Regions from separate parts of the Homo sapiens genome. Here regions 2 and 3 are each linked to region 1. Evidence: promoter capture Hi-C in 16 types of primary human blood cells and fetal thymus (Javierre and others, 2016). All regions are on one chromosome and are shown on one strand. Each heading gives the region's core, a stretch centred on a gene start or on the middle of the fragment in contact. The rest is flanking DNA. Distances are from core to core; before and after follow the strand shown. Region 1 holds the start of INO80C (INO80 complex subunit C). Region 2 has its middle 41 kb from the start of ZNF396. Region 3 overlaps LOC105372063 (a long non-coding RNA gene).

What was found. The method cuts DNA at HindIII sites, captures the fragments that hold promoters and counts their contacts. A CHiCAGO score of 5 or more calls a contact.
Region 2: a fragment that was not itself captured here is called in contact with the fragment with the promoter of INO80C in region 1 in 1 of 17 cell types (M2 macrophages); the score reaches 6.3 in M2 macrophages.
Region 3: a fragment that was not itself captured here is called in contact with the fragment with the promoter of INO80C in region 1 in 1 of 17 cell types (M2 macrophages); the score reaches 6.2 in M2 macrophages.

The regions. Positions count from the first base shown.
Region 1 is chr18:35,496,104-35,500,063 of GRCh38, reverse strand. INO80C (INO80 complex subunit C) reads left to right here and starts at 2,104. Exons shown (of 5, transcript NM_194281.4): 1 at 2,104-2,345. The coding sequence starts at 2,190. RefSeq lists enhancers at 1,927-2,196, 2,547-2,666, 2,937-3,086. The HindIII fragment of the contact is 4,638 bases long and covers 1-3,960 here.
Region 2 is chr18:35,415,923-35,420,281 of GRCh38, reverse strand. No RefSeq gene overlaps it. Among named protein-coding and RNA genes, the nearest start is that of ZNF396, 41 kb to the right of the region's middle. The HindIII fragment of the contact is 2,773 bases long and covers 7-2,779 here.
Region 3 is chr18:35,398,670-35,402,573 of GRCh38, reverse strand. All of the region lies in intron 2 of LOC105372063 (a long non-coding RNA gene), which reads left to right. Among named protein-coding and RNA genes, the nearest start is that of ZNF396, 23 kb to the right of the region's middle. The HindIII fragment of the contact is 2,979 bases long and covers 642-3,620 here.

The sequences.
Region 1 (3,960 bases), core at 855-3,354:
TGGGGCACAGCCCAGTTGTTGTTGTTGTTGTTGTTGTTGTCGTTTTGAGGCGGAGTCTTGCTCTGTTGCCAGGCTGGAGTGCAGTGGCACGATCTCTGCTCACTGCAATCTCCCGGGTTCAAGCGATTCTCCTGCCTCAGCCTTCTGAGTAGCTGGGATTACAGGCGCATGCCACCATACTCAGCTAATTTTTGTATTTTTAGTAGAGACGAGGTTTCACCGTGTTGGACAGGATGGCCTTTATCTCCTGACCTTGTGATCTGCCCGCCTCAGCCTCTCAAAGTGTTGGGATTACAGGTGTGAGCCACCGCGCCCGGCCCAGAGCCCAGTCATTAAGGACCTTGTATGACAAGCCAAAACGTTCTTACCCTGAAGGTAAAAAAAAAATTTTACCCTGAAGGCAAAAGGGCCCTGAAGAATGTAAGAAAGTAAGTGGTATGATTATATTTGTAATTTAGAAATCCCATTCTGGCAGCCAGTGTGAAGGATGGTCTGGGGTCAGGAATGGATAAGGGAAAGATGGCGGCCGAAACGTCCATCTGGAGGCTGTTGCTGAGATGTAGACATGGGATACAGATTCACCAGGGCAGGAGCCGTGAAGGAGAGAAGCGAGCTGAGGAGGTGAGGAATGGGAGGAGGTGGGGACAGTAGAGTTTGCTTAGGTGACTGGCTTGTTGGAGGTGAGTCCTTGAGTTAAGGAATGAGGAAAAGACTAGCTTTAGATGAGGATAGGGATGGAGATGGGGTGTGGGAAAGAACATTTCAACACTGGTAGGCTTATTCCTTTCTCTAAAGGAAAAAATATGTCAGTAACAATATTGCAAGTTTCCCTAACTGCTCCTTCTCTCTCACCTCTAAGTCATTGTGCAGCCTGTTTATTTCAAATATCAAGACTCATATACATCAACTTCCTGTATTCAAACATAGTAGCTTCCACCAATCACTGCAGGGAGTTAGTTCATTCGTTAAATACATCATTAAAAATACTTATAATGCACCAATGACTTGCAAGGTACTGTGATTGGGGGGACTGATAAGTTAACAAGACATAACTGACCCTTCCCTCATACAGATTACATTCTAGCAGGAGCCAAAAAAGACATTAACCATCCGATTATAAATCATTTAGTTATATGATGTCGCAAAGGTTCTGTAAAAATATAGGGTAGAATGAGGCAAAGAACAAGGCGGGTAGGGGGACTCAGGTTCCTAAATAGGTTTTAGTAGATCTGTGACCTCCCTGAAATCTGTAAAATTTTGTCTGTGTCTGTATACATTTAATGGGGTGGTGGGGAGGTGGGGGTGTGCGGCAGGGATAGGAAGCACAGATTCCATGCTCAAGAGTCTGTGAATCCTAAGAGATTAAGAACCGGCCGGGCGTGGTGGCTTACGCCTGTAATCCCAGCACTTAGGGAGGCCGAGGCGGGCAGATCACCTGAGGTCGGGAGCTCGAGACCAGCCTGACCAACATGGAGAAACCCCGTCTCTACTAAAAATACAAAATTAGCCGGGCATGGTGGCACATGCCTGTGATCCCAGCTACTCGGGAGGCTGAGGCAGGAGAATCGCTTGAACCCGGGAGGCGGAGTTTGCAGTGAGCCGAGATCGCGCCATTGCACTCCAGCCTGGACAACAAGAGCGAAACTCCGTCTCAAATAAAAGAAAAAAAAAAAGGGAGAGATTAAGAACCACTCTACCCTTCATGTCCATTTGGGCGCTATTTATATACAAACCTTTTCCGCGTGGGAAGGCAGGGAGGGATAGAGGGAGAAGCCAGTAGCTTGGCGGTCTACTGAGAACGACCCCAGCTTTAGGCTTACAGACATCAAAAGTAATCACTCTTCTATATGAGAAAAGACAACACGCTCATTAATTTTTTAAAACGTAGTTACTTAAAAAGATTGGGAGATTTTCTATTCCTCTATCAATGGGGATTTCCAGGCACGTGCCCCACCCAAGGCCCACGCCCAGAGCGCCCGAGTGGCAGGACAACGCCCGCTGACATCTTCCCGTCCCGACGGCACAGGCTACTCCGAGCTCCGCCTTTTAGATTGCACCGAGAGAAGCCAGCTACAGCTTGGAGTCCAGGCCGGGTTTTCAAGCATCAAGACGGAAGTAACAGCGGAAAGGAAGTTCCAAGGCCCGCGCTGGGAAAAAGGTGGGGGGACCAGGGGAAGACTCGGAGTGCGATGGCGGCGCAAATTCCAATTGTGGCCACCACTTCCACTCCCGGAATAGTCCGGAACAGCAAGAAGAGGCCGGCCAGCCCTTCCCACAATGGCAGCAGCGGCGGGGGCTATGGCGCCAGTAAGAAGAAAAAAGCGTCCGCTTCCAGCTTTGCGCAGGTACGCAGTCGCGCTCCCAGGCTGCGCGTGCGCGTCGCGAAACGGGACTTGGCGGGGCGGAGCCGAGCCAGGGCGCGTGCGTAATGTGGGGCGCTGCGCGTGCGGTCTCCGTTGGGGTTGAAAGACGCTGCCCCGCGGAGTGAATGACTACTCTTTCCCTTCGTTTGGACACATGGGCTTACAACGCCTTGTGTTGTAAGGAGAGAAGAAGAAGTAGGGAGGTTATTACTGACTTAGTATTAATAGAAGGACTGCCTCTTCCCCTCGAGGTCGCCTTTAGCATGAGGTTCAGGACTAATGAGTGTCAGTCATTCAGAAATTTGCGTGTCTTCCCCTCGTCCATTCTGCAGACATCTACCCAGTGTCTTTGAGGCGCATAGCGCTGTAATGTCCTGCATGGATGAATACAAGATGTATTGATAAGTATGCTTTCTCTCATCCTGAGAAAAGTGCTTTTTTGACCCTGGGTTTCCCAATCCAAAGGCAGGTTTGGTCTTAACTCATGGGCTTGTTAAGGTTATGAAGTAATGAGTGTAAAGGCACTGAGCTCAGCGCCTGGCTCAGACGTCAGGGCCTCTGAACAATCTAGGTTCCGTAATTCCAGCAATGAATTTTCAGCAGGGAGTGGCTTGATTAGTGTTTTCTCTGGCTCCTGCATTTTATTCAAAGCAAAAAAGCAGAGATAGAGTGTGTTACTTTGTGCTCCTCAGCATATGGTGTGACACCACCGTTCACCCAGTCAGTCAGTGGCTGTTCTAGAAATCTTGTTCCTTCTTCTGTAGGTGATTGGTAGTGCTTTTTATTTTAACCTTTTAATATTAAATACTTTGCTATAGTAAGATTTACACAGAGTACAATGCACAAATTTTCAAGAATACTGGCTGAACCACAGATCTTCAAGAATCCTGTCTCACGCCTGTATCCCAGCACTTTGAGAGGCCAAGGTGAGAGGATTGCTTGAGGACAGGAGTTCGAGACCTGCTCCCCAACCCCCATCCAAATTTACAAATAGCTGGGCGTGATGGTGCACGCCTTTAGTCCCAACTACAAGAGCATCACTTAAGCCCAAGATTTCAAGGTTACAGCGAGCTATGATCGTGCCATTGCAGTCCAGCTTGGGCAACAGAGTGAGCCTATCGCAAACAAAACAAAACAAAACAAAACTACAGATCCAGTGCCCTTTTACATTTGTATACACCTATGGCCACTGCCTGGATCAAGATAGCATTTCTAAGAGCAGGTGACATTTTCCTGTCAGTACTGTCTTTCCTTCCTAACAGTTACCCACTGTTCAGCCACCCTTCACAATAGACTGACTTTGGGTTGGAACATAATATAAATGGAATAATACAGGACAATAGGGAACATATTCTTTTGCATCTGTCTAGGTTCCTTTTTGAGACAATGTTTTTGAGAGTCGTTTAGTACATCTGTTGCATTGTATAAACATACACCCGATGAATATTTGAACGTTTACAGTTTTTGGCTTTGTGCAGAAGCTGCTCTGAACATTCTTGTACAAGTCTTTGTGTAGATAGATGCTTTCATTTCTCTTGAGAAGTAGTGGAATTGCTGAGTCAGAAGGTAGGCATACATTTAACTCAGTAACTGTTAA
Region 2 (4,359 bases), core at 144-2,643, 79 kb after region 1:
AAAGCTTGGGATACATCTGACAAAAGATGTGAAAGAGCTCTACACTGAAAAATATAAAACAATGCTGAGATAAATAAAAGAAAATCTAAATAAAAGGAGATTATATTTTGTTCGGTGGTAAGAAAACACAACATATAGTTGTGATGTCAATTCTCCCTAAATTAATCTATATATTCAATTCAATCTCAAAATCCAGTATTATTCATATAGAAATTGATATTTTGATTCTAAAATTCACATAGAAATGCAAAAACCTGAAATATTCAAACAACTTTGAAAAATAAGAGAAAAATTGCGGTTAACTCTACCAGACTTCAAGACACTGTAATGCTGTGATAGTCAAAACAGTGTTGTATTGGCATAGCAATAAACAATCAGATAAATGGAACAGAATACAGAGTCCAGATATAGACCCAAACATACATTGACAAAGGATTTTTGACAAAGGTACAGGGAAATCCAGTAGAGAAAAAGTATCTTAGTTCATTCAGGCAGCTATAACAAAAATACCTTAGACTGAGTAATTTATACATAATAGAAATGTATTGCTCACAGTTCTGGAGGCTGGGAAGTCCAAAATCAATGCACTATCAGATTTAGTGTCTGGTGAGGGAATGATCTCTTTTTCCAAGGTGGCACCTTGTTACTGCATCCTCACATGGCAGGTCAAGGCTGTTCCCTTCAACCTCTTTTATAAGGGCAGTAATCCCATTCATGGCATCTCTGCCTCATGACTTAATCACTTCCTAAAAGTCCCACCTCTCAATACTGTCAGATTTGTGATTAAATTTCAACATCTGAATTTTGGGAGGACACATCCAGATCATTGCAGATAGCCTTTTTAACAAATGATGCTGGAACAATTGCATATCCACATGAAAACAAATGAACTATTCATACTTCACACTATATATAAATATTAACACAAAATGGATCTATATTAGTCCATTCTTACACTGCTATAAAGAACTGCCCTGGACTGGGTAATTTATAAAGAAAAGAGGTTTAACTGACTCACAGTTCCATATGGCTGGGGCCTCAGGAAACTTAAAATCATGGTGGAAAGGGAAGCAGGCATGTCTTACACGGTTGCAGGCGAGAGAGAGAATGTGTGAGAGTGCAGGAAAAACTACCATTTATAGCCATTTATAAAACAATCAGATGTCATGAGAATTCACTCACTATTACGAGAACAGCATGGGGGAAATGGCCTTCATAATCCAGTCACTTCCCTCTCTCAACACATGGGGATTAAAATTCGAGATGAGATTTGGGTGAGGACACACAGCTAAACCATATCAGGGTCATTGACTGTGGTAAGAAGAATTACGTCCACCAAAAAGTTTCTATACCCTGATCCCCAAGACTGAATATGTTACATAGCAAAAATGACTTTGCAGAGGTAATTAAGGTTACTAATCAGCTGACTTAGAATAGGGAGGCTACCCTGGATTTCCACGTGGTTCCAATGTAATCCACATGTGTCCTTAAAAGCAGAAGAAAAAGACAGAAATGGAAGTTAGAGGGAGTCAAAGCATGAAGAGTCAGTGTACCATTGCTTGTTTGAAGATGGAGCTTGGCCATGTGAGAAGAAATACGGACAGCCTTAAATTGCTGAGAGAAAGGCCCTTGGCTAATAGCCAGCAAGGAACAGAGATCTCAGTCGTATGACCATAAGTAATTGAATTACTTCAATAAGTAATTACTTTGGCCAACTTCAATTACTTGTGTAATTACTTCTTGAAGTAATAAGGAACTGTTGATTCATGCTACAAGATGGATGAATTTCAAAATTATCAAGCCAAATGAATGTAATTACTTACTGAAGTAATTACACAAGTAACTGAAATTGGCCAAAGACCTTAGTTTGCTTGGAAGAGGACCCAAAGACACAGAACTGCAGCTTTAGCCAATAACTTGATTTTAGCCCAAAGAATACAGTCATGCCATGCTGGATTTCTAACCTATAGAAACAGTAAGATAATAAATTTGCATTGTTTTAAGCTGCTACATTTCTGGTAATTTGTTATGCTGCAGTAGAAAAGTAGTAAATAGGCCTTAATTTAAAACCTAAAACCACAAAACCTCTAGAAGAAAACATGAAATGTTCATCATAAACTTGAGTTAAGCAAAGACTTATATACAACACTTACACACCACACTTCTTATATACACAATTCCTTTACATACAGACGCGTTTCATAAAAGAACAATTTGATAAAGTAGACCTCATCCATAAAACAGTTGTTCTTCAAGAGACTGTTATGAGAATGAACATACAAGCCAGAGACTAGGAGAAAATATTTGTAAATTACATATATAATAAAGAACTTCTATCTGGAATATATGTAGACTTCTCAAAGCACAATAAAAGAAAAACAGACAAACCAATTTTAAAAGTAGGCAAAAGGCTTAAACACTCATTTCACTGAAGAGGATACATGAATGGCAAATAAGCAAAATATGCCCAACATCTTTGTAATTAGGAAAATGAAAATTAAAACCACAATAAGATACCTCTGCACTCCTGCTAGAATGGCTAAAATTAAAAAGACTAATCATACAACCTGCTGGTAAGGATTTGAAGGAACTAGAACTCTTACACTGCTTGTGGGAATGTAAAATTATACCAACACTTTGAAAAACAGTCTGGCAACTTCTTAAGAAGTTAAACATATACCTACCCTCTAACCCAATCATTTCTTTCCCATGTACTTACCCAAAAGAAAAGAAAGCATATGTTCCTGCAAACAATTTTATGCAAATGTTCATAGAAGCTTTATTTGTAATAGCCAACAACTGAAAACAACTCAACTGTCCACTGACCAGTGAATGGGTAAATAAATTGTGGTATATCCATACAGTGGAATACTACTCAGCAATAAACAGGAAGGAATTGTTGATTCGTGCTACAAGATGGATGAATCTCAAAATTATCATGCCAAATGAAAGAAGCCAGACAAAAAAGTACCTCCTGTATGATTCCATTAACTAAAAACTTTAGAAAATGCAAACTAATCTATAGTGATGAGAGGGCATCACAGGTTACACAAAGACAGGGATGTGGAGAGAGATGGGAGAAAGGAATTACAAAAGGACACAAGGAAGTCTGAGGGGATTATGGATTTGTTCACTATCTTGATATTTGTGATGGTTTCATGGGTTAATCCGTATGTCAAAACTTACCAATTTGTGTGTTTTAAACATATGCACGGTTTGTATGACAATTTTATTTCTATAAAGCTTTTAATTATGAAATAAAAGAATATTTACATAAATGTACAAGGATGTAATGAGAACACTTTACAAAGTTGTTTCTTCCAAACTAATCTGTAAATTAAATGTAATCCTTACTAAAGTTGCAACAAGATTTTTTTTAAAGATTTGGCAAACTTATTCTAAAATGTAGTAGAATACTAAAGATTCTCAAATAGATTAGTCAATTTTTTTTTGAGACATGGTCTCACTCTATCCTCCAGGCTGGCATGCAGTGGCATGATCATGGCTCACTGCAGCCTCGAACTCCCAGGCTGAAGTGATACTCCCACCTCAGCCTCCTGAGTAGCTGGAACCACAGGCACACGCCACCATGCCAGGCTAAATTTTTACTTTTGTCTTTTGTAGAAATGAGGTCTCACTATGTTGCCCAGGCTGGTCTCAAACTCCTGGGCTTAAGCGAACCCTCCCACCACGGCCTCCCAAAGTGTTGGGATTACAGGCATGAGCCACTGTGCCCAGCCTGATAAGTCAATTTGATAATAAAAACAAAGAAGGACAAATTGTCTTACTAATTAATTGTGAAGACATACTGTAGACACAATATTAAAACAGTGGATATTGGCACAGGAGCAGGCAAATGGAAAATCACTTGCGCCTAGGCAGTCAAGGCTACAGTGAGCTGTGATTATGCCACTGCAGTCCAGCCTGGGTGACAGAGGGAGACTGTATCTCAAAAGCAAACAAACAAACAAAATAAATAAAAAACTTCATGCTTCGATGGTGGAAGTGAACACTGATGCAGCCATTCTGGACAGCAACCTGACACTAGTGCAATTAAATGTGTACATACATCTGTGCACTGAAACCCCTTTATGTATACCCTGTCTGGAAAGCTGCGCATTGCATACAACAATTAGAAGTGGAGTACTATATCAAATTTATGGCATAAATTTTAAATCAGCAAAAGTTAAAGTTGAGAAATCTTAAAGGAAGTGAATAATACCAAAACCAAAAACCCCAAGAAATGCAAATAAAAGATAAAAGATTGGAAAGTTAGACTTTCGGTTCAGTAGGTCAAATTACAGGATTCTAAAAGCACACTGCCATTAATGTGATTTAAAACACATGATAAAGAGCACC
Region 3 (3,904 bases), core at 882-3,381, 98 kb after region 1:
GAAATGGACCTGATGTGTATGGGACAGTCCCAGTTTATATCTATTTTCCTGGCATCCTATTTAGTTTAGCATTTTTCCCTAGAGAAACAAAATTTAACTATCATCAATAGTTGAATTTAAATAAGCCATAATGGTTTTGGTCAATTTTCACTTTGGAATTCATTCAGGCTTCAGCCATGATGTGGCCCAGTAGCGTATAAGACACATGTGCACTGAGCAGCTTCCATCACGACTTTTGGCCACAGGGCTGGTGACAGATACAATGCTTTCAGGGCCTCTCTCAGCTGGAGGGCTGCCTTGCCTAAGGTCCTGTTCTTCCTCCAGTGGTCCATATTCAACAACTGGTGGGGGGGTAAAGATCTGGACATTGTGGCACAAACAGGACAACTCTGACAGGTCATTTTAATAGCAGAGTTCCCTGTGGGGTTGATTAAGGCTGCCATTGGGTTGTATCACAGCCCATCCGGCCCTTTGCTCTCTCACCTTTCCTTCCTTTTCCTCCCGCACACATTGATCCCAAAGACATTCCTCAAACAGACTGCTCGGTCAACTTCATCTCAGAATCTGTTTCCGAAAGAACCCAACCCAATCCAACTATAAATTGATCATAGCTGAGGAAGCTTTGAAGCTCCTTCAAAGCTTCTTCCAGCTTTAAAAAAGGATTGCAGGCAATTTTATATAGGTGCTAAAAATAATATGATCATGTTGAAAAAAATGCACCTGTCAAAAAAATTCAGTGACTGCTTTGCTATACATACTCTTTTTATTTTTTAAAAAAGAATTTTTGAGAATAGTTTTTGAATAAAAGTATTTTATAGGTTCACTGGTATAATAAAATTAATTTGTTAATTAATAAAGGTTTCAAAAAAGTATATAATTACATTCAGTGGCCTTTCTCAGTGTAAACATGCCCTGGTGTAGACATAAATTACAGTCACTCTTATTAATTGTGTCTTCTCTTTTTTTCTTGAAGGGTCTCACCAGTGGTTTATTGATTGGATGTCTTTGAAAGAACTATAGCTTTGTTATCATTTTTATTGTATGTATTGTATTACATACACATTACATTATGTATTGTATTACATACACATATACATTATGTATTGTATTACAATAAAAATGTAATACATTTTTATTGTATTTATCATTTTATTGTATGTTTTCTTTTTTTATTGTTTTTATTTTATTTCTAATATGTTCTTTCTTCTACTGTATTTTGCTATATTTTATTGTTCTTTTTCTTTTTTTTTTTTTTGAGACGGAGTCTGGCTCTGTCGCCCAGGCTGGAGTGCAGTGACGCCATCTCGGCTCACTGCAAGCTCCGCCTCCCGGGTTCACGCCATTCTCCTGCCTCAGCCTCCCGAGTAGCTAGGACTACAGGCGCCCACCACCACGCCCCGCTAATTTTTTGTATTTTTAGTAGAGACGGGGTTTCACCATGTTAGCCAGGATGGTCTCGATCTCCTGACCTCGTGATCCGCCCACCTCGGCCTCCCAAAGTGCTGGGATTACAGGCGTGAGCCACGGCACCCAGCCTATTGTGCCTTTTCTAACCTTTTGAAATGAATGCTTTCTTTGTTAATTTTCACCTTTTATGCACTAAAGATTACAAGTTTTCTTTTCAGTACTGCCTTAGCTACATCTTACATTTTAATGTGTAGTATTTTACTACCATTTACTTATTTTAATTGGGAGTTAATTGTTATTCATTTTAGTATTTTTAATTTATATTTAAATTACTTTAAATTGACAAATAAATTGGATATATTCATCATGTACCACGTGATGTTTTGAAATATGTATACATTGTAGAATGGCTAAATCAAGCTAATTAACATACTCATTACCTTACATACTTATCACTGTGGTGAGAACATTTAAAATCTACTCTTGGTGATTCAAGATATCACCATTTAATTTAAAATGTTTTATAATATTCATTGTAAATTATTTTTGGACACATGGATTATTTAGAAATATATTTTATAATCTCCAAACATAAGAATATTTTTAAAGTTGTCTTTTTGTAATTTTGTAATTAATTTCTAGCTTAATTGCATTGTGGTAAGCAAACATTCTGTATAATTTTAATCCTGTGAAAATTGTGTATGATTTTCAACCCTGTGAGATTTGTTGAGACTTACTTTAGAGCCCAGCATATGGTCAGTTTTGGTGAAGATTCCATGCGTCCTTGAAAAGAAAATGTATTCAGCAGTTGTTGGGTGCAGTATTCTGTATATTCTGTATATATTAAATATATATTCTATATTCTGTATAGAAATCCAGTTTATTAATTGAATTGTTCAAATCTTCTAAATTTTTGCTGAGTTTTTTGTCTGCTCAATTCTATGTTTCCAAGAGAAATACAGGATATTAGCTACAAGACTTCTGTACATGCTAAATAACAGTGACTTAAACAAGACAGAGAGTTTATTTCCCCTTGGTGTGAAAGTCTCAGTAGGTGGGTGAACAAGGAGTGTATGTGTCTCTGCAACTTACTATTATTCAGGGATCCAGGTTATTCTATCTGTGGCTTCAGCCAACCCCTACAGGGTTGTTCACATCTACCAGGTAGAAATAGGCCAATCATTTGCATGACCATTTTCTACTTTATAGAAATAAAATGTAAGCTGAGAGCAAGGAGCTTTCTTTTCAGGATATGAGTGGGAAGTTACTTACACACATGGTCACACCTTGCTGCATGGGGGGCTGGGAGGTGTTTTGCCCTTGAGTGGCTGTATTCATTTCCTACTGCTGCTGTTACAAATTACCACAAACGTGGTGACTTAAAACAGCATGAATTTATTGTTTTACAGTTCTAGAAGTTAGAAGTGTAAAATGGTCTAACTTGGCTAAAACAAAGGTGTTGTCAGGGCTGTGCCAACAGCCTTGGAGCCTTCTAGAGGCTACATGAGAGAATCTGTTTCCTTGTCTTTTCCAGCTTCTAGAGATCGCCTACATTCCATGGCTCATGGCCCCTTCTTCCACCTTCACGTCCAGCAATGTAGCACATTCGTTTCTCTGACTCCAACCTCTTCTTCTGCCTCCCTCTTCCATTTAAAGACCCTGTGCTTACACTGGACCCACCAGGATTATCCAAGATAATTTCTTATTTTTAAAGTTAGTTAATTAGCAACCTTAATTCCATCTGCAATCTTAATTCCCCCATGCCAGGCAACATAACATAGTCACAGGTTTCAGGGATAGAACATGGCCATCTTTGGAGAACATTAGTCTGTCTACCACACCTGCCATTCTCAATGTGCTTGCATTTCATTTTTTGCTTTATTATCTCATGATTTCCAAACCGTGCAGCTTCAAGCATCACTTTCTTACACAACTGCATTGAAGTCAGGAAGAAAATGGCAAGGGGGAAAGGGCTTTCCTTTTATCAGGAGCAAAGTCTTTCCCAAATGCTTTCCAGGTCATTTTTTCCTTTGTTCTCATTGCTAATAACTGGATCTCTTGGCCATTCATCCTAGCAACAAATGAGGCTGGAAATGTAAGTAGGTAATAAAAAGAGAAGGAGTTGGATTACAATGACTGGTTTCAAAAAGAGAGAACTGCTATTGGGCAGGCATCTAATGGTGCCTGCTCAGAAAGCCACCAGCTCCTAAGCTTTAGTCACCTGCCTTCCCGTTTTCTAGTTTTCTCATTCTACTAGCCTGTCACACTTTAACTCATGCTAGCATGCATTTTCCCCACTAACTATTGTTTATGCTATGAACTTTGTATTTGAGATCCTTCAGATGTCAGCTTTGAATTTTCAAAGATGAATTTTTATAACTCAAGAAAAGAAAGGAAAGGAATGAGGAAATTTCTCAAAAAGCCCACTATTTAAAAAGATAAATGTTCTATTGGAATTTTTAAAATATTGGTTTTAAAGACTATTGTTCCCACTATG